2 separate regions of the Homo sapiens genome follow, and region 2 is linked to region 1. Evidence: promoter capture Hi-C in human tissues and cell types (Jung and others, 2019). All regions are on one chromosome and are shown on one strand. Each heading gives the region's core, a stretch centred on a gene start or on the middle of the fragment in contact. The rest is flanking DNA. Distances are from core to core; before and after follow the strand shown.

Region 1 (4,493 bases), core at 400-2,899:
AGGACGTCCTCCAGGGCTGGGCCAGCAGCGGCCTCCAGGACCTTCAGCGTCAGGGCCAGCTCAGCCTCCAAGGCCACAGGGCGCTCCCTCACCTGAGGAGAGGTGAGAAAGAGCAGGTGAGGGAGAACAGGCAAGAAGACCCAGTTAGTGGGGACAGGTAGGCAGTCCTGGGGAAGGTCGGTGACACAGTGCATGTGGTGGGGACAGGTGAGGGGTCTGGGGAGAAGGAGACAGGAGGGGGAAGACATGAGGAAGGATACAGGTGAGGCAGGATGGTCAAGGAGGCAGGTGAGGGGATAAGTGAAATGGAGACAAATGAAAGGGGACTTACGGGGGTCACAGAAGTTCTCTGGGGCGGGGTGGGGACGGGTGAGGAGAAAGCAGGTTGGGGGCACAGTAAGAGAGGGACAGTTGCATGCACAGAGAAGAAGGGTAGGGCTGGGTGTGGTGGCTCACGCCTGTAATCCCAGCACTTTGGGAGGCCGAGGCGGGTGGATCACCTGAGGTCAGGATTTCGAGACCAAGCCTGGCCAACATAGTGAAACCCCGTCTCTGCTAAAAATACAAAAATTAGCTGGGCATCATGGCACATGCCTGTAATCCCAGCTACTCGGGAGGCTGAGGCAGGATAATTGCTTGAACCCGGGAGGCAGAGGTTGCAGTGAACCGAGATCATGCCACTGCACTCCAGCCTGGGCCATAGAGCAAGACTCTGTCTCAAAAAAAAAAAAAAAAAAAAAAAAAAGAGAAGGGTGGATGAGGGGGGAGCATGAGCTGGATGAATGTCAGTGAGAGATAATGAGGGACAGGTGACAGAGGCAGGTGAGAGGGAGAGGGGGTCAGTGTTGGGAACAGACAGGGAGAAGTGGAGCAGGACGAAAGGCACAGGTGGGCGACAGACTGGAGACATTTGGGAGAGAAATGAAGAGTGAGAGTGGAAGTGACAGGGACAGGTGAGCGAGCTAGGGAAGTGGGGCCGATGGGAGATGATAAAAGGGACCCAGGGGAAGGACAGAGTCAAGAGAGCAGTTTTGAAGTGGCAGGGGCACAGGACAGGTGAGGAGAGGTCCAAGAGAGTGAAGGACAAGGGAAACAAAGAAGGCTAAGGGGCCACTTAAGAAGAGGGGGGAGAGGGTCAAGGGAAGGGTGAAGGGGGCCTGACTTTCAGCTCACCTGGAGAAGCCTCAGGTCCCAATTCCCGGGGAAGACAGGAGAGCTGCAACTCCAGTTTTTCAGCTTGAGTGACTCTTCCTAGAGAGCAAGGGCAGGGGTTAGCCCACAGCAGGATGGCTGGAAGCTAGCTCATAGCAGCAAGGATGAAGTTGGCCTGACAGCATGGGTTTAACCCAGTGCAGAAAGGATAGAGGTTTGCCATAGTTGGAAGGCTAGAGGCTAGCCCACAGTAGAAGGGCAGTAATTGGGACACCCGTAGAAGTGGTTCATCCACAGCAACAGGAACTCACCAAGGCGTCCCTGGCCTTCTTGAAGCTCGCTAGCTCCTGTGGTGACAGAGATTTGAACCTGCCAATGTGGCAGCCCTTCCCAGTTGTGGTGGGCTTGGAAGTGGGGACAGGGCCTGCCACGGCCAAGCCTAGCACCAAAGTCACCAGCACCACGGTCCAAGCTGCAGCCATGGCTAAATCGCAACTGCTTCCCCAGCGGCATGGCTCTGCTTTTTAGCCACGCAAAATGGGCAATCCAAGATGATGTGTGTAAAGTGAAAAGGTAATTGGAAATGAGAATTTCCACTTTGACTTAAGAGGCATGAGTGGGCGGGGCCCGTCTGGGAGCCTGATGAGGGAACAGGTGTGGGCAGGGCCAAGTGAGCTGGGAGCTGCATCAAGAAGGAAAGAGAAACTGAAATCCTTAGAACTCCCTGGGCAGCTTTCAGCCAACTGGCCTCAGGGAGTCCCTGACGGAGGCTGAGATTAGGGATAAGGCTACCTGAGTGGCAGAGAGGAAGCTTCTTTTTTATTCTAAATTAGCCAGGTGTGGTGGCATGCGCCTGTGGTCTCAGCTACTCAGGAGGCCGAGGCATGAGAATCACTTGAACCCGGGAGGCGGAGGTTGCAGTGAGCCAAGATCGTGCCACTGCACTCCAGCCTGGGTGATGGAGTGAGATCCTGTTTCAAAAAAAAAAAAGCTTGTTTTTTATTTTATTGTTATTATTATTTTTTGAGACGTAGTTTTGCTCTTGTTGCCCAGGCTGGAGTGCAATGGTGCAATCTTGGCTCACTGCAACTTCTGCCTCCCGAGTTGAAGCGATTCTCCTGCCTCAGCCTCCTAAGTAGTTGGGATTACAGGTGCATGCCATCACGCCTGGCTAGTTTTTGTATTTTTAGTAGAGACTGGGTTTTACTATGTTGGTCACGCTGGCTTCGAACTCCTGACTTCAGATGATCTGCCTGCCTTGGCCTCCCAAAGTGCTGGGATTACAGGCGTGAGCCACCACCTTACTTTATTATTTATTTATTTATTTTTGTAGAGATAGGGGTCTCACTATGTTGCCCAGGCCAGTCTTGAACTCCTGGCCTTAAGCCATCCTCCTGCTTCAGCCTCGCAAAGTGCTAGTATTAAAGGCATGAGCCACTGCTCCTGGCCAAGAAGGAGCTTCTGCCATTGGTTTAAGAATGTCCCATTAACTAATTTCAGTTCATGCTCCTAATGTTTCTCTGAGTAGTTATTTTTATAATTGTGATGGTTAATTTTAGGTGTCACCTTGACTGGTTAAGTTTATCAGATAGCTGGTGATGCGTTAATTCTGGGTATGACTCTGGGGTGTTTCCAGAAGAGATTGGCATTTGAATCAATGGACTGAGTAAGGAAGACCCGTTGTTACCCAATGTGGTGGGCACCATCCAATTGGCCGAGGGCCTGAATAGAACAAAAAGGCAGAGGAAAGGAGAATTTGCTCTCTCTTATGAGCTGGGACACCCTGCACCTGCCCTTAAACATCAGAACTCCAGGCTCTTTGGTCTTTGAATGCTGGGATGTGCAGCTGGGCATGGTGGCTCACGCCTGTAATCCCAGCAGTTTGGGAGGCTGAGGCAGGTGAATCACTTGAGGTCAGGAGTTCGAGACCAGCCTGGCCAACATGGTGAAACCCCATCTCTACTAAAAATATAAAAATCAGCCAGGCGTGGTGGCACAGGCCTGTAGTCCCAGCTACTTGGGAGGCTGAGGCAGGAGTATCGCTTGAACCCTGGAGGCGGAGGCTGCAGTGAGCTGAGATCATGTCACTGCACTCCAGCCTGGTCAACAGAGTGAGACTCCATCTCAGAAAAAAAAAAAATGCTGGGACTTGCACTAGCTACCCCCTAAGTCCTGAGGCTTTTATTCTGGAACTGAGCTGCACTACAAGCTTCCCTGGTTCTCCAGCTTGCAGATGGCCTGTTGTGGAACTTCTTAGCCTCCCTAATTGTCTGAGCCAATTCCCCTAATAAATCCCCTCCTATCTCTCTCTCATCTATCTAGTCTCTCTCTCTCTCTCTCTCTCTCTCTCTCTCTATCTAGTCTATCTCTCTCATCTATCTAGTCTATATCTCTCTATCTATCATCTATTTATCCAAACATCCTATTTGTTCTGTCTCTCTGGAGAACCCTGACTAATACAATAATCATGCCCATTTTACTAGTGAGATAACTGAGGCATAGGAAGGCAAAGTGACTTGCCTAAGGTCCCACAGTGGGATAGAGGCAGAAATGGGGTATGATGAGTCCTATGTACTTGCTCCCTATTCCATATGCAGCCCAGGTAGAAGATGAGAACCTCTGGGGGTAGCAGGCCCACTTCTCCTTTCTGTCCCTCTGGGTAGCATGAGAGGGGTAGGGAACTCCTTATTCGCTGGGGGCAAGCGCATTTCCTGGGGACTGGAGGGGCTGCCTGGAGAGAAGGCAGGCGGTGAGTCTGGTTGCCTTGCTATCATCATCCCTGCAGTAATAGTAATTGTGTAGCAGGTAAGAAACTGCTCTGATGTGCAGACATTTCCTATTTTCACTCCTTTATTTTTTTTCTTAGCCCTTTGGTGCAGAAAGTTATTAATCATACTCTTCAGATCATAACACAGGATCACAATTGGCCCATGAAAGACCCTCCAAGGCTTTTATTCCTCCATTGCCAATTCCCATTCCCATCGCACCCCCACAGACACCCACTATAATGCACTTGATAAATAGCTGCAAAGATGTATCTTTATAATTTGTGATCTCGTGTGTGTATGTGTTTCCAATTTACATAAGTGGAATTGTGCTATAAATCTTCTACTTCTTTCTTTTTTATTTTTTAACTTAACACTGCTTCTGAGATCTCTTCACAAGCTGTGTACATCAAGTTTCCTGTGCACTGTATTTCATGGTGTATACAACCACAGCACTTTTACTTACCTATTCCCCCAGTGATGGACACTTAGGTTGCCTCTAGCTCCCCATTACCATAAGGCTCACACCTGTCCTCTGGGTGGGCGGCTTTCTGGAATATACGGTAGCACACCAGC
Region 2 (4,853 bases), core at 1,106-3,605, 130 kb after region 1:
CAACCTCCGCCTCCCGGCTTCAAGCAATTCTCCTGCCTCAGCCTCCCAAGTAGCTGGGATTACAGGCGCCTGCCACCACGCCCAGCTAATTTTTGTATTTTTAGTAGAGATGGGGTTTCACCATGTTGGCCAGGCTGGTCTGACCTCTAGTGATCTGCCTTGGCTTCCCAAAGTGTTAGGATTACAGGCGTGAGCCCTGCGCCTGGCCTTCCTGGAGTTTTTATAAGGAATTACGCAGAACAGAGGGCACGGAGGGCCTGGCCCAGAGACAGTGGTTGGGATCAGAACCAAGGCAAATCACACACACAGTAAGTGCTCAGTAAGTGCCGGTCACCATTCCAATAGCAGCCAGCACTTACTGAGTACCTACTGTATACCAGCCCTCTTCCAGGCACTTTACCCGGAGTCCCACATATGATCCTGGAGGGAGGGGCCATTAATAAGCCCCGGATTACAGACAGGGAAAACAAGGCACAGAGGGGGACCTCATTAACCCAGGTGGCCCAGCTAGGGTGGCAGAGTGGACACCAGACTCCAGGCCTGTCTGCAGAGATTCGCGGGTTCCGGCCCTGCTGTGCGTCTAATCCCGTTCCATCCTCACAAGCATCCTCATCCCAATTCATGAATGGGAAAACTGAGGCCCAGAGAAGGGAAGGCCCTTGTCCAGGGCATGGACAGGAGAAGCAGCCAGTGAGAGGCAGACATGAGAAGCAGCCAGGATTTGAACCTGGGCGGTTGTGTATGGAAGGCACTGAAGGCTGGGCTCTTACCTGCCTGTCCTGCTGCCCTGGAGGGCTGAGGTGACACTGTTGGTTTTGTCTATTATTATTTTATTTATTTATTTATTTATTTATTTATTTATTTATTTTGAGAGGGAGTCTTGCTCTGTCGCCCAGGCTGGAGTGCAGTGGTGCAATCTCAGCTCACTGCAACCTCCGCCTCCCGGGTTTGCGCCATTCTCCTGCCTCAGCCTCCCCAGTAGCTGGGACTATAGGTGCCCACCACCATGCCCGGCTAATTTTTTTTTTTTTTTTTTTGTATTTTTAGTAGAGATGGGGTTTCACTGTGTTAGGCAGGATGGTCTCGATCTCCTGACCTCATGATCCACCTGCCTCGGCCTTCCAAAATGCTGGGATTACAGGCGTGAGCCACCGCGCCCGGCCTTATTATTATTATTATTATTATTATCATCATCATCATCATCCTCTCAAGGCTGGTCCTGGCCTCCCCTCTCCCTCCGTTCCCATTCTTTCTGTCTACACCCAGACCTTGCCTTTCCTCTCCTGCCTAGTCTCTGCTGAGTGAGGGTCCCTCCCTCCTGTGTGACCTGTCCTGGACCCCACGGGTAGTGGGAGGAAGCACAAAGTGGGCCCCGGGGCCCCCACCTCCCCAATGGCTGTACACCAGCCTTTCCCATGGGCCTGTGCAGCAGGAAAGATGCTTAAAACCAACCCCTCCCACCAAATGTGGCCTGAGGCTCAGCTCGGTACTCCCACCACCATCGCCACCACCACAAGGGACCCATGGCCCAGAGCAGACGCTGACGCTGAGCTCGCAGGCGCCCTCAACCACGGTGGAGTGGCCATTCTGAGCCCCATTTTGCAGCTGTGGAAACAGAGACTCACAAAGGTAAAATCTCTCACTAAGCTCACCGAGCAGAGCTGGGCCTGGAAGCCAGAGTCCTGCCCATTCCAGAGTCCTGCCCACTCCAGAGTTCACAGCCTTAAACCCTTTGCTGGCCCCCAAAATGCCTCCTCGTGGCCTGAGAGTCCCCACAGGATGCGCCCATCACCATGCTGCCCTCCTCTTCTCCCAAGCACCCCTGTACTCACTGTGCCCTGGCCACACAGGTCCCCCTGCTGTTCCTCAAATCCTAGACATGGTTCCACCTCAGGGCCTTTGCATGGGCGAGTGCCCCACCTGGAACTCTCCTCTCACTGATCTCCCACCTTCCCTGACTTCCCAGGCCCGCCTGTGCTCACAAGCCCTGCTCCTGTCCTGTCGCCCTCTACACCTGTCTCTGCTTTATCTTTCCTCAGGGCTCTTACCACATATATGGCGTGCTTGTGTGTGTGTGTATAATTCTTTTTTTTTTTTTTTTTTTTTGAGACAGAGTTTCACTCTTGTTGCCCAGGCTGGAGTGCAATGGCATGATCTTGGCTCACTGCAACCTCCGCCTAGTGGGTTCATGTGCTTCTCCTGCCTCAGCCTCCCAAGAAGCTGGGATTACAGGCGTCCGCCACCATACCCGGCTAATTTATGTATTCTTAGTAGAGATGGGGTTTTACCATGTTGGCCAGGCTGGTCTTGAACTCCTCACCTCAGGTGATCCACCTGCCTCAGCCTCCCAAAGTGTTGGGATTACAGGCGTGAGCCACCGGGCCCAGCCATATGTGTAATTCTTTAGCATCTGCCTCTCCCTTAGAATGTGTCAGCTTCACAGGGCAGGGACTGTCCTCTGTCTTACCCCCTCGTAGCCCAGGGCAGCACACAGTAGGGACTCCGTGGAATGATCGTCCCTGTCCGCTGCATTATTCCCCTGCTCAGAGGCCTTGGACAAGGCCCAGCAGCACCCGGGAAATCTTTCAGATAAGCAGCTGGGACCTGGGGGCAGTAGTCCCAGAGCAGCAGGAAGGTGCAGCCTTCTGCCCCAGCCGGGGCACAGATGCCTCTGAAGTCCAGTATTTGATCCCAGAAATGCAAGCGCATTTTGTATCCTACTCTAAAATGTTTATTTCAAATTTTAAAAAATCTTTTGAATTCTTTAACATGCGGGACAGGCAGCGTTGACCTGGCCTAGCAGACACTTCAGATTTTCCAGTCACCCCCTGCATCCTCTGACCTTTTCTGGGAGGAAAAGGGTCCCACCACCCCCATTCTCCCCCACAAGGTTAACTGGCCCAAATGGAAAAGCAAGATCCACCGTGCGACAAAGCTGTCAGTGTCAGCAGACGTGAGCGTGCAAAAACCCTTACCTCCTGCCCCGCCCCCTCCAGGCTCTGATCAAAGCTGCTGCCCCTGGAAGGGAGGGGGCTGGCCCACCCAGAACACAGGGGCCCAGGGGCAGAGCAGGGGAGGTGGCCAGGACCACAGGCATCCTTTCATCGTTACCAAAATGAAACTCGAATCAGGAAGGGGACCCAGACCGCTCACTGCCTCCAGCCTGCACTCAGCCTTCCACCATTGGGTCCCACTCACCACCCTGCCACAATCTTCACCTACCAGCTCTGGGAGGGCCCCTCCCTGCCTCAGTTTACCTCCTACCTTCTGGCATGTGCTTTGATGGTGGAGGCGCTGGGAGTTTGGCTTCCCGTCCCGGCACAGCAGGCTCCTCGCTGTCCTGAGTCCCCCAAGCCATTCCTGCCTCCAAACCTTGGCTTAGCTCTTGCCCCCATCCTGCACGGCCCCCAACCCTCCTCTAACCACATCTCTCTTCAGGCCTCCCACACTGAGCCTCGTTCCTCCAAGGAGTCCTCAGGTTTGGGACCGACACATCCCCAGAGTCTGCCTTAGCAAACACCTACTCCACCCACAAGTGACCCGATCACACCCACCCACGCATCGACCCACGCACCCGTCCATGTCTACCAAGGGCTGACTCTGCTGGGCCTGGGGCCCATAGCAGTGCACCCAACAGTCAGAAACATCCCTGTCCTCGCAGCACTCACATTCTAGAAGGAAGGAGGCAGTCAATGTATGAGATAAATCAGAAAAACATCTACTAAGTCGGGTGAGAAATGCTGACATAGAAAATAACGCAGCAATCAGAAAGGAGCTGAGGGGAGGGGAGGCTGGAATTCTCAATAAAGTGGTCAAGGCCGGGCACGGTGGTTCACGCCTGTAATCCCAGCACTTTGGGAGGCCAAGGAGGGAGGATCGCTTGAGCCCAGGAGTTCAAGATCAGCTTGGGCAACCTAGTGAGACCCTGTCTCTACCCCAAAAATAAAAAATAAATAAAAATTTAGCCAGGTGTGGTGGTGTGCGCCTGTGGTCCCAGCTACTGAGGAGGCTGAGGCGGGAGAATCACCCGAGCCTGGGAGGTCGAGGCTGCAGTGAGTGATCGTGCCACTGCACTCCAGCCTAGGTGACAGGGTGAGACCTTGTCTCAAAAATAAGAATAACAGGCTGGGTGCAGTGGCTTATGCCTGTAATCCCAGAACTTTTGGAGGCCAAGGCAGGCAGATCACTTGAGGTCAGAAGTTGGAGACCAGCCTGGCCAACATGGTGAAATCCCATCTCCACTAAAAATACAAAAAATTAGCCTGGCGTGGTGGCAGGCGCCTGTAGTCCCAGCTACTTGGGAGGCTGAGGCAGGAGAATCGCTTGAACCTGGGAGGTGGAAGTTGCAGCGAGCCAAGATCGCACCATTGCACTCCAGCCTGGGCGACAGAGTGTGAGACTCCATCTCAAAATAATAATAATAACTATTATTATAAAATAAAGTGGTCAGGCAGGCCTTGCTGAGAAGGGGACACGTGAGCAGGGACCTGCGTGAGGAGGGGAGAGGGAGCCATGTAGGGCTCTGGAGGAAGGGCAGCCCAGGAGGAAGGAACAGCCAGGGCGGTAGGAATTTGCTTGATATGGTCAAGGGACAGCGAGGAGGCCACGTGGCTGGAGCAGGGTGGGCGAGGGGGCAAGTGGAAGGACAGGCCAAGGAGGTAATGGGGCAGATCGTGTGGGGCTTTGGGGGCCACCGGGAGGGCCTGGTCCTTTCCCGAGTGAGACGGAGTTGCAGGGGTCTCTGAGCCCAGGAGGGCCACCGCCTGACTCAGGAGTTCACAGGCTCCCACTGGCTGGGAACAGTCTGTGGGGGCAGAACGGAAAGGGGGACCAGGGAGGAGGAGGCTGTGATG

Evidence for each region. The method cuts DNA at HindIII sites, captures the fragments that hold promoters and counts their contacts. A contact is called where the count stands out against the background at its distance.
Region 2: a contact is called between a fragment that was not itself captured here and the fragment with the promoter of IFNL1 in region 1, in 1 of the 25 tissues and cell types used here (psoas muscle).

The regions. Positions count from the first base shown.
Region 1 is chr19:39,293,563-39,298,055 of GRCh38, reverse strand. It overlaps IFNL1 (interferon lambda 1), which reads right to left and starts at 1,649. Exons shown (of 5, transcript NM_172140.2): 1 at 1,464-1,649; 2 at 1,174-1,251; 3 at 1-92. The coding sequence starts at 1,634. The HindIII fragment of the contact is 11,779 bases long and covers 1-2,752 here.
Region 2 is chr19:39,161,531-39,166,383 of GRCh38, reverse strand. All of the region lies in intron 1 of PAK4 (p21 (RAC1) activated kinase 4), which reads right to left. Among named protein-coding and RNA genes, the nearest start is that of PAK4-AS1, 27 kb to the right of the region's middle. The HindIII fragment of the contact is 8,833 bases long and covers 1-4,853 here.